Regions from separate parts of the Homo sapiens genome. Here region 2 is linked to region 1. The links are contacts of gene promoters, found by promoter capture Hi-C in blood cells and fetal thymus (Javierre and others, 2016). All regions are on one chromosome and are shown on one strand. Each heading gives the region's core, a stretch centred on a gene start or on the middle of the fragment in contact. The rest is flanking DNA. Distances are from core to core; before and after follow the strand shown.

Region 1 (4,923 bases), core at 2,261-4,760:
CCTGGCCAACATGGGAAACCCCATCTCTACTAAAAATACAAAAGTTAGCAAGGCATGGTGGCACATGCCTGTAGTCCCAGCTACTCAGGAGGCTGAGGCACGAGAATCGCGTGAACTTGGGAGGCGGAGGTTGCAGTGAGGTGACATTGTGCCCCTGCACTCCATCCCGGGCGACAGAGCAAGACTCTGTCTCAAAAAAAAAAAAAAAAAGGAAGTGATTCGTATGACATGAATCCAGTAGCAATATGCGATAGGCACTTGGCCAAAATATGCATTCACTTTTTTATTCTCATGGAACTTGTATTTTTGTAGGACAGACAAAAAATAAACACATAAATGAACATAATGATGGATAGCACTGGATGCCACAAAAAGAAACAGAGCTGTAAACTAGGGTATTCAAGAAGGGCTTTTCTCAGATGAGCAGTGTTGAAGGATGTGAGGAAGCAGCAAGTACAGAGGCTCCGGGATGGAAACTGACTTGACATTTCTAAAGTGCTGCAAGGAGGCTGGAGCTGAGAAGTGAAGGAGAGGGTAGAAAATGAGGTGGTAAGGGCAGCCATGGACCATGTCACGTAGGCCTTGCAGGCCATGGTTTCAGACTTTGTTAAGTGGCAAGGGAATGGCATAATCTGACATGTTTTAAAAGAATCACACTGGCTGCTATGTGGAGAATATTTTATAGAGAACAAGGTTAGAGACCCAGTTGATCAATGTATGAGCAGAGGGATCCAAGCACTAAAATCTGCCCAGATGGGTGGGGAGATGGGATATGAAGGGAATCTTGAGAGAGGAGTAGAAACTGCCTAAGAGAAAAGGTTAGAGGGCATCTTGGGCAAAGGGAAGAACAGGAGCAAGAACACAGGGGCGTGGAAGGCCCCAGCATATTTGGAAAACTTTGAGTGCTCTAGTGAGGTTACAGAGAGGGATCCAGACATGAGGCTGGAAAGGAGGAGAGACCTAAATGGCCAAGGGCTGTTCTTTTAACTTTTCACATCACCAAAGTAAAATGTTGGTACAGTGATGGGGGCTGAACCTGAGGCATAACTGGGGCTACAACTTCTCTGGGAGGCTAGTCCTCCCAATAGAGTTTCCAAGAGAGCAGGAAGGCCACACAGTTCCTTGCTCTTTCCCCTCTCCTCAGACTAGAAAAAACATGGGCAATCCACAGTACTGAGCTGTTAGTATCAAAGATGGGCACACCCACTCACTGTGGTGTGGCAATCAGATAGCAGAGATCTGAAGGTGTCTCCAACAGGTCAGTACCCGGGAAAAACTGTCCAAGTAAATAAATATCTTGTTCTCCACACTGTCTTAGTCCGTTTCTGCTGCTATAACACAAATACCTTAAATGGGATACTTTATCAACAAATTTATAAACAATAGAAATCTATTTGTCCCAGTTCTGGAGGCTGGGAAGTTGACAGAGCAAGGCCTCAACAGATTTGGTGTCTGGTGAGGGCCCTCTGCCTCACAGATGGCGTCTTCCTGCTGTGCCCTCACAGTACAGAAGGGTGAAACAAGTTCCCTCAGGCCTCCTTTACAAGGGCACTAATCCCATTCATTAGCAACCAAATCACCTCCGGAAAGCCTCACATCTTTTTTTTTTTCTCTTGAGACAAGTCTCACTCTGTCTCCCAGGCTGGAGTGCAGTGGCGTGATCTCGGCTCACTGTAACCTCCACCTCCCAGGTTCAAGCGATTCCTGTGCCTCAGCCTCCCAGCTACTCGGGAGCCTCCCGAGTAGCTGGGATTATAGGCACGTCCCACCACGCCCAGATAATTGTATTTTTAGTAGAGGCGGGGTTTCACCATGTTGGTCAGGCTGGTCTTCAACTCCTGACCTCAAACGATCTACCCTTCTCAGCCTCCCAAAGTGCTGGGATTACAGGCATGAGCCACTATGCCCACCCAAGTCCCACATCTTATTATCATCACCTTGAGGATTAGGTTTCAACACATGAATGTGGTGGGGATATAAACATCCAGACCTCTTATTCCACCCCAGATTCCCAGGCTATAAGTACACTGAGCCTTAAAGGAAGTATTAGCTGTGGGTTGGTGAAGAGAATTCCAGAAGGAAAGAACAACGTATGCAAATGCCAGGAACCAGAAAGCACCCTTCTCCATGGGCAACAGAACCAAGGCTGGAAAGACAGGTTGGGCCTAGATTGGGAAATGCTTGGATAATGGGGTAGTCACCAGAACGGTTTATTCCTAAACCAGATTCCCCAGTTAAATAGAATAACCAAAATCGAAATGTGCAATGCTTGCTTTTTGTCCATGATAAGCTGCAGGGGAAACATTTGCAGGTTGGCTGACTGAATCCACAGATGGAAGTCTCTGTAAATTTAGGACAGATTGTCTCAGTTAATCTCTAGGACCAGTCAGACCTCTGTAATGATGGATTTGCCTGACATGAGAAAGTTCTACCTCTCATAACACAGTTTTCAAAAGTTAACTGCAATGTGGCCTTTATGTGATGAAATCTGGCTCAGGTGCCAAAGATCTGCAACATTAAGACCTTTGCAGGTGGGGATTCACTGTGATTTTAGGTTCCTTGGATCCTTCAGTCTTCTACTTCAGCTGAGGGTTCCCACCCAAGCCAGGACTCAGCCTTTGTTATTCTCATGCATTAGCCACAGGTAGCTATGTCACTTCAGAGTTCTGAGCACGATGAAAATGCAGACTTTACAAGCACTTCAAGTCAAGACAAGTGATTAGCATTGGCTCCAAGGGTTTAAAAGGAACTCAGCCAAAAACTGTTCAAAACTGGCCATTTCATCTGAACTGGGACAGCAGGGCACAAGGAGAGAAAAGGCTGGTTGGATTAATGCAGCCCCCGCTTTCCATGGCTCTACTGTATTTCACTGAGAGTTGCTACCAACTCCTGCGCGCGCCCCCACCCGCCCACTCCACTAATCTCGTGTCTTAATCAGAGATACAGGGAACCCGTGGAGAAGATGAAGTACAACTGGGATAAGAAGATCGTAGGTGTTTTACGTTTGAATTTAAGCAACAAATCTGTCGAGCTGTTTTTCTCCACTTCCCCCTTAGGCTGGGTCACGCGAGGGGAAAGCTCCGACCGCCCAGGACTCCTTAGAGTGAATCCCATCCCCTCAAGTTCCTCTCCAGAATCTCCCCCTCCTCCCGCCTTTGCCCTGCAACTCCTCCCTCTCACTCTGAGTCGCACGCACCCCTGTCCCCTCCCTGCCCGCAAAACTACTCTTCAAAGGCTTCCTTCCGGGCACCGCGAAGCCAGCGTGCTCAGCATTCAGGGAGGCAGCGGCGCTCGCCTTCATCCAGGACAACAAAACTGCCATTTCCGAAGAGAAAGGAAACGGCTCGCGGTTTCTGGGGTTCCCAAGCGCGCGCCTGCGAGGGAGGCCGCGAGCCGAGTCGCCACGCCCAGAACCCCGAGCCCGCCCCCGCGCCACCCAGCCCGGCCCCGCCGCCCCGGCTGCGCACGCGACGCCCCCTCCAGGCCCCGCTCCTGCGCCCTATTTGGTCATTCGGGGGGCAAGCGGCGGGAGGGGAAACGTGCGCGGCCGAAGGGGAAGCGGAGCCGGCGCCGGCTGCGCAGAGGAGCCGCTCTCGCCGCCGCCACCTCGGCTGGGAGCCCACGAGGCTGCCGCATCCTGCCCTCGGAACAATGGGACTCGGCGCGCGAGGTGCTTGGGCCGCGCTGCTCCTGGGGACGCTGCAGGTGCTAGCGCTGCTGGGGGCCGCCCATGAAAGCGCAGCCATGGCGGGTAAGTGGCTGCGGGGGTCGTCAGCCCCGTTCGTGGGAGGCAGCGCGCTGCCGAGGCTTGGGTTCCCAAGTTGGGCTCTGGTACAGAAAGTTCCGCGTGTGTCTGGCCGAACGCTCGGGGCGGACCCAGAGGTGACCGGGCGGGGTGGGGGAAACTGAGGTTTGGACCAGTCACCCGCTGGCCCCGGGGCCGCCTGCTGAGGAAATTGCCTGGTGCTTCCCCTCTCGCTTTTTGGATGCGGCGGTCGCAGGCCGGGACGGGTGCGCATAACCTGTTGAGTTACCGCAAGTTGGTTTTTACAGCCTTTCCCTGAAGTTAATGTTTGCCGAGGTTAGAGTTTCTAAGGCTTCCGTTTGTAAACAAGATTAGCTGAGTTGAAAAATATGTCTACCTAGGCCCGCGGAAACGTCTCCCAGTTAGTCGGGGAGCTTTTCAAGCGTCCCCCAGGCATTTCAGCGTCTAATATTATGCAGTATTATCCAGATGAATTACAATCTTTAGGTCCCCCTGACGCTCGAAGTTAGACTTCGGGGCTCTTGGAGCTAGTTGGGAGCTTTTGGGGAGCGCGCCCCGCCCTCGCGGTAGTTGAGGCGGCCGCCCCCATGGCGGGGCGCTCTCCACCCCTCGTGTGCCATAAACACCCGGCCGAGGCGCGCGGCAGCTGCGCAGCGTTAAGGGCACAGCTGCACGGTCGCCGGTGGCCCTTGTCGTCGCTAGTAAGGTCGTAACAGGATGATGTTGACTTTGCTTTTCTGTGTAGGGCGGAATTTGTTTCGTTTTAGGCCCTTGGCCCTTTGGAGACTTCAAACAGCCCTTTTTGGATGAAACCAGGAAGTTGGGATTTGTTGTGTAAATACTGTTTTCCTTTGTCAACTGTTAGAGAAGTCAGGTCCCTAGGTAATGGTCAGTAAACTAGGATAAGTTAAGTAACCCAAGGTTTTCATGGTTTTAAGTTCTATCCATCCACTGTATATGTTAGCCTTAGGTTCGTTTTATCCAGCAAAAGAAAAAGGCAGTTTGTAAATCTGGAAGGTTCAGGCACAACACTTGCTTTTTCTGGAATAACCTGGGTGAATTAACAATTTTTCTTTGTTTTGCTGAAGTTTTTTTGTTTGCTTAATTGTGCGTGTGACAAACTGGCTTCGCAGACCTAATTTTGAGATCATTTAAGA
Region 2 (5,148 bases), core at 1,977-4,476, 3.6 Mb before region 1:
AATTGCTCAATAAATACTAGTTACACAATCAAATCCTACTGACAAAGGAAAAAGACCGACCTGTAACTGGGAAGGAGGAAAACTCCTTGAGGGTGGAGACTTGGTTTTCCAGTAAGGAATTCAGAGTACAAAGTGATGTGTGAGTTTCTAAAACTACTTACAGGTTTTAAATCCCAAGTGCATTTAAAAAAAAAAGTCCAGCAAAGTTTATTTTAAAAATGTAAAGACGAACATGTAAAACCATAGGGGGAAAATTCTGGTCCTTTCCCAAATTTCAATCATAATTTTTATGTATTTTGTCTATTTTATTTTGCCTTACTTTGTAAATATGGTCACAAAACTAAACAATTCAAAAGTTACCCTTTATGCTTATCACTTCAAACACTTTTAATGGTAGAAAAAATTAGAAAACAAAGGGAAAACCAACCAAAATTTTCCAAAAGAGGGTAATAAATTAAGATGAAGACCAGGAAAACACCATTCTTCCTAAGAGTAAGAATGTACCGTCCTGGCATATGGTAGGCTATATACTAGGTATGTTCTCTCCTGCACGTCCACAGCAACAGTTGGGAGAACAGGTAGAGGGAGGGAAATGAGCTGCACTCAGCAGAAATGGTTAATGCACCATGAAAGAAAAAGACTCTCTGAGTTCCTAGTGGATTCTTACCTATAGGACAAGACAGAGTAATGGAATTGACTCTTTCAATGCACTAATGATAACCCCCAAAAGCCAACTCTGTCTTTAGAGTTGGCAATCTAGTAACAATGCCTAGTACAAAACAGAGTACTTTCCTTGCTGCTCTCCTAAGTTTTGCCTAGCATCATTTAGCAAGACTCTTAGGAAAAATCCCTTGCTCAATCTCCTCACTTACTACAATAAGTAGAGCAATTCAAAGAATCTCCAATGAAGCAAATCAGTGTCTACTTCCCATCTTCATTAAGAAATCATGCTGTGTCCATTGATGCTTCAGGAATCAGTAGCATGGTAACAACACTAGTGACAATTGGAAAATCTCTCTTCCTTTCTGTGTTACTGGACATAGCAACAGCTTTTTCACAACAAAATAAAGAAAAGGAAAAGGCCTAGACATTGTGATTAGTCAAGTAAGATCAACTAAAAAAAACTGGTGGGGGGAGGTCTAATAACACAATTAACAGGAAAACTAAATCTTAAATTTTTGCTCAATTGTCTTTCCATCATTTATTTTTCTTTTTTATTATTATTATTATTATACTTTAAGTTCTAGGGTACATGTGCACAATGTGCAGGTTAGTTACATATGTATACATGTGCCATGCTGGTGTGCTGCACCCATTAACTCATCATTTAGCATTAGGTGTATCTCCTAATGCTATCCCTCCCCCCTTCCCCCACCCACAACAGTCCCCAGAGTGTGATGTTCCCCTTCCTGTGTCCATGTGTTCTCATTGTTCAATTCCCATCTATGAGTGAGAACACCATCATTTATTAAAAGCTTCAGTTATTAATTACTTGTTTATCTAGCATTGACCATAGCCAACACTGCCCATCAAGTTAACTGGTAACAAAATCTGTTTCTCAGAAGTATCATTTCCAAGCAGATACCAACCCACTGGGCCAATTATTACCAGGTAGTTGTGCTGACTGCATTCTAAAAAACAATGGCCTTTCCATTTCTGATTTTAGAAAAAGTTCCTGTAATGACAGCAGAAAGCTACAAGAATATATGGGCTAATTCCCATGCTAAGAATCCTCTATAGCAGCAATTTTTTTAGAGTAAGCCACCTATGTCCCTGTTGAATACCAGATCCTTTCCCAAGAAAAATGCACATGTGCATATCATACAAAATGTAGCATACAGTTTCAGGAGGTAAACAAAATTCCTGGAATCTTATCCAGGGAATCAGATCAACAATCTGTTATAAGGTTTCCAAAATCACTAGTAGGGCCTTGTTCTGAACAAACCTGAGAATAGAGTTGTACTGGAAAGGTTTATTAGCAGGTAAGAGAAAGAGTAGCTAGTAGGAAAATGCAAGGTAAGGACAATAAAAGCAAAAGGGAGAAGAGATTCACAACCACACTGAAGCCTATACTCTAACAGCACAGTGTTTATTCATTCATTTGACAAATATTTTACTATTACATGCTAGGCAAGGTACTAAGAGATGTGATAGTGATCAAACTCTGATGTGGCTAACATGGTTCTTGCTCTCACACAGCTTTTAAGTATCAGGAAAAGATAATCAATCATCCTGATGAATAATCAACTGAGATACATTACTGGAATAAGGAAAATATATTTTATGAGAACCTACAACAAAAGAACCTAGCTTAGATTGAAGGCTCACAAAGCTTCCCTAAAGTAAGGTTAAGGTGAAATCTAACAAGTAAATAGGAGTTCTCTATGCAGAAATGGGAGTGAGAGATAAAATTAATACAAGCCTTACAGACTGAGAGAGCCACATATTCAAACCACATATGGTGCAGGCAGTATGGAGATTAGATAGTTTTACTATGAAATTAGGAAGATGTGGGTTCTTTTATTAATAGCTTTCTTCTTAGCCTGTTACTTATTTTCTTTAAAAATAGCAGTATATGCATCATAGGGTAGTTGAGAGAATTAAATCACAGAATATGTCTAAAGCACTATGTAAAATGCCATGACACGTGGTTAAGTGTTCATTAAATGTTAGTGATGATGACAAATATACAGCAGTTAAGAGAACCTGTATTTAGTATGTATTAAATTGCCTGGGTACATTCAACTTCACCACAAATGTTAGTGGTCCTTAAAGCCACCACTAACAAATTTCTAAGGCAATATATAAGCAACTTAAATATTTTAATAATGCTTGCTCCTCATTTTTACTTACATAAATGGGCTAAAAAGAGATGTATTTAGATGCAGAACAAAGAGTCGCCCGTTGGTATCCACTGGGGACTGGTTCCAGGACCCTCCTCAGATACCAAAATCTGCGCATGCGGCCCTATGGAACCTGCATATATGAAGTCAGCCCTCCACATCCTCAGGTTTCATATCCTGCAAATACTGAATCTTGATACACGTTTGATTGTGGATGCAGAATCTATGGGGACAGAGGGCCAACTACTGAAAAAAATTCACATGAGTAGACCCATGCAGTTCAAACTTGTGTTGTTCATGTGTCAACTGTATACGTTATCTCTACATAAGGACTACAATGTACTTTACTATTCAGATTCTTTTTTAAAAAACAAACAATTAACTGAAAAATTGTGGTTAATGTTTAAGTGAAATAAATTGAAGTATAATTCAAAAAAAATTTCACTTAATATTTCACTTTACCTCTAGGCAAAGTTATGGATCCCCAGTAACGGATAATCTATTATTTATGTGTAAGTCTGTAAATATTCATGGAAATATACCCTTTTCAGATTTATGCTCTCCATTACCTTTGTGTACTAAGCACATTTTCCCTAAACTGAAATATCTCTAATACATCTCCTGGCCTGAGATTACTCAATAGCAATAGAACTGAGGCATCGAGACACTTAACTGCCATACTAGAAAAATGCAACGTTACCTGGAAAACTAGTCTTCATTATATCAATTCCAACTTGCAGCTCAGGTTCAGCAGCAAGCACTGCATAGTCTCCTTGATGAGAGATGTTAAAGTTGAAATTCGGGTAAGGATTCGATGAGTCCTTTGCAAGAACTGGTTTTCCTTTTGCAGTTCTTTGCAAACGAATATGATTCCAAGGGATATTCAATTTCTCTGCAACTAATTTCCTTATCATCAGACGACCAGCCTGTTAAGTACATAAAACATTTGGTATGTACTGATGTCTACTAAAGATACAAGCACACTGTATGCAATAGTACTTTTTTTTGGTTTCTAAAATTTTCATTTTTAAAACTTTTCAAAATACTTAAGTATTAAACACACGTTAATTAAGACTTAAGCAATGCTTAAGTAGATAAAAAGTTAAAGCCCGCCTTAGCAATTCCCTCTCCTTTGCTAGTGACCAAAGTTAACAGCTGGCATCCTGTCAGTCTTTTCTGTATTTAAATATATGTGCATTTACATGTTTTTGCTAACTCTACATATAAACACAAACATGAGATTATACTTATGCAGTATTCTACCACATATAAGCTTTAAATTTATAAGTATTGGGAAGTATTTTATGTCTGTACACACACGTCTGGTCCATGCAGTTTTAACTGTAGCATATTTCATAATATTATTTCCCCTTTATTGGACATTTTAGGCTGGCTCTAGACTTGCTGTCAAAAACAACTCTGCAGTGAGCAACCCTACTGTACCTACATCTGTGCATATGTATTTCTAGATCCCATATATTGATCACCCAGCTTCAACAATTAGCAAGGCATGACCTATCTTGTTCTGCTCTCTCCCACCTCCAATTATTATTTTTTAAATAATTACTAAAAACACACACACAAAAAAACAAGAATATAAGATGACAAAGTATATATTTTTAAAAATATCTTTCAGGTTTTTTTCTTCTTCAATTCTAACACTGACTTTTAAAAACTGCAGGCTTTTAAATGTAGCTTATTTTACAATTCCTTACAAATGAGTAAAAAATTTTCACCAATGTGCCTTAAAAATTATCAACTAGTCTACATTTCAAACAGAAAGTGTTTCAATATGGGACATTTTTAAGAAAGGACTGTCTTTTAAATGATGGTAATTCACGGTTGTTTCAAATTGCACCATATTGTACAGATTACTTGTTTTGAAATCCAGTTTTCCATTTGTTGCTTCAAAATACATAGCTAAAATAAATAAATCTACGTAAAATACTGTTTCCCATGGCATCTAGTGAGGAAGGTATCCTCTCTGGCTTCAATTTCATTGGCTTCAATCCCGGGGAGCGCAGGGCTACAAACTAAATCATACTGTCAATAATTTCTAGGGCCTACCACGTGCAGGGAGTCCTTGGAGAATGATGGGATATTTAACAGGCAGAATAAGCATAGGCTATGAACGCACACAAACAAAAAAAAATAACATTTAAAGATAAAGACATAAAAACATTCATTACAGAAAAACCCAATTTTGTCGGCCTTCCCTACACTTATTTCATGGTTTAGGAGGGTCTCCATTTGAAATAACAAGGGGAAAGAGATAATGTTTACAGCCATCGCGGCCTCCAAGGCG

The links. Contacts are between HindIII fragments. The CHiCAGO score rates a contact against its expected background, and 5 or more counts as called.
Region 2: a contact is called between a fragment that was not itself captured here and the fragment with the promoter of TMEM123 in region 1, in 1 of 17 cell types (monocytes). The highest score is 5.5, in monocytes.

The regions. Positions count from the first base shown.
Region 1 is chr11:102,451,352-102,456,274 of GRCh38, reverse strand. It overlaps TMEM123 (transmembrane protein 123), which reads left to right and starts at 3,510. Exons shown (of 5, transcript NM_052932.3): 1 at 3,510-3,751. The coding sequence starts at 3,652. TMEM123-DT (TMEM123 divergent transcript) reads right to left here and starts at 3,356. Exons shown (of 2, transcript NR_135053.1): 1 at 3,226-3,356. RefSeq lists enhancers at 3,147-3,256, 3,987-4,276, 4,457-4,506 and a silencer at 3,377-3,666. The HindIII fragment of the contact is 13,483 bases long and covers 1-4,923 here.
Region 2 is chr11:106,078,088-106,083,235 of GRCh38, reverse strand. It overlaps AASDHPPT (aminoadipate-semialdehyde dehydrogenase-phosphopantetheinyl transferase), which reads right to left. Exons shown (of 6, transcript NM_015423.3): 2 at 3,544-3,769. Among named protein-coding and RNA genes, the nearest start is that of AASDHPPT, 3.0 kb to the right of the region's middle. The HindIII fragment of the contact is 1,784 bases long and covers 2,335-4,118 here.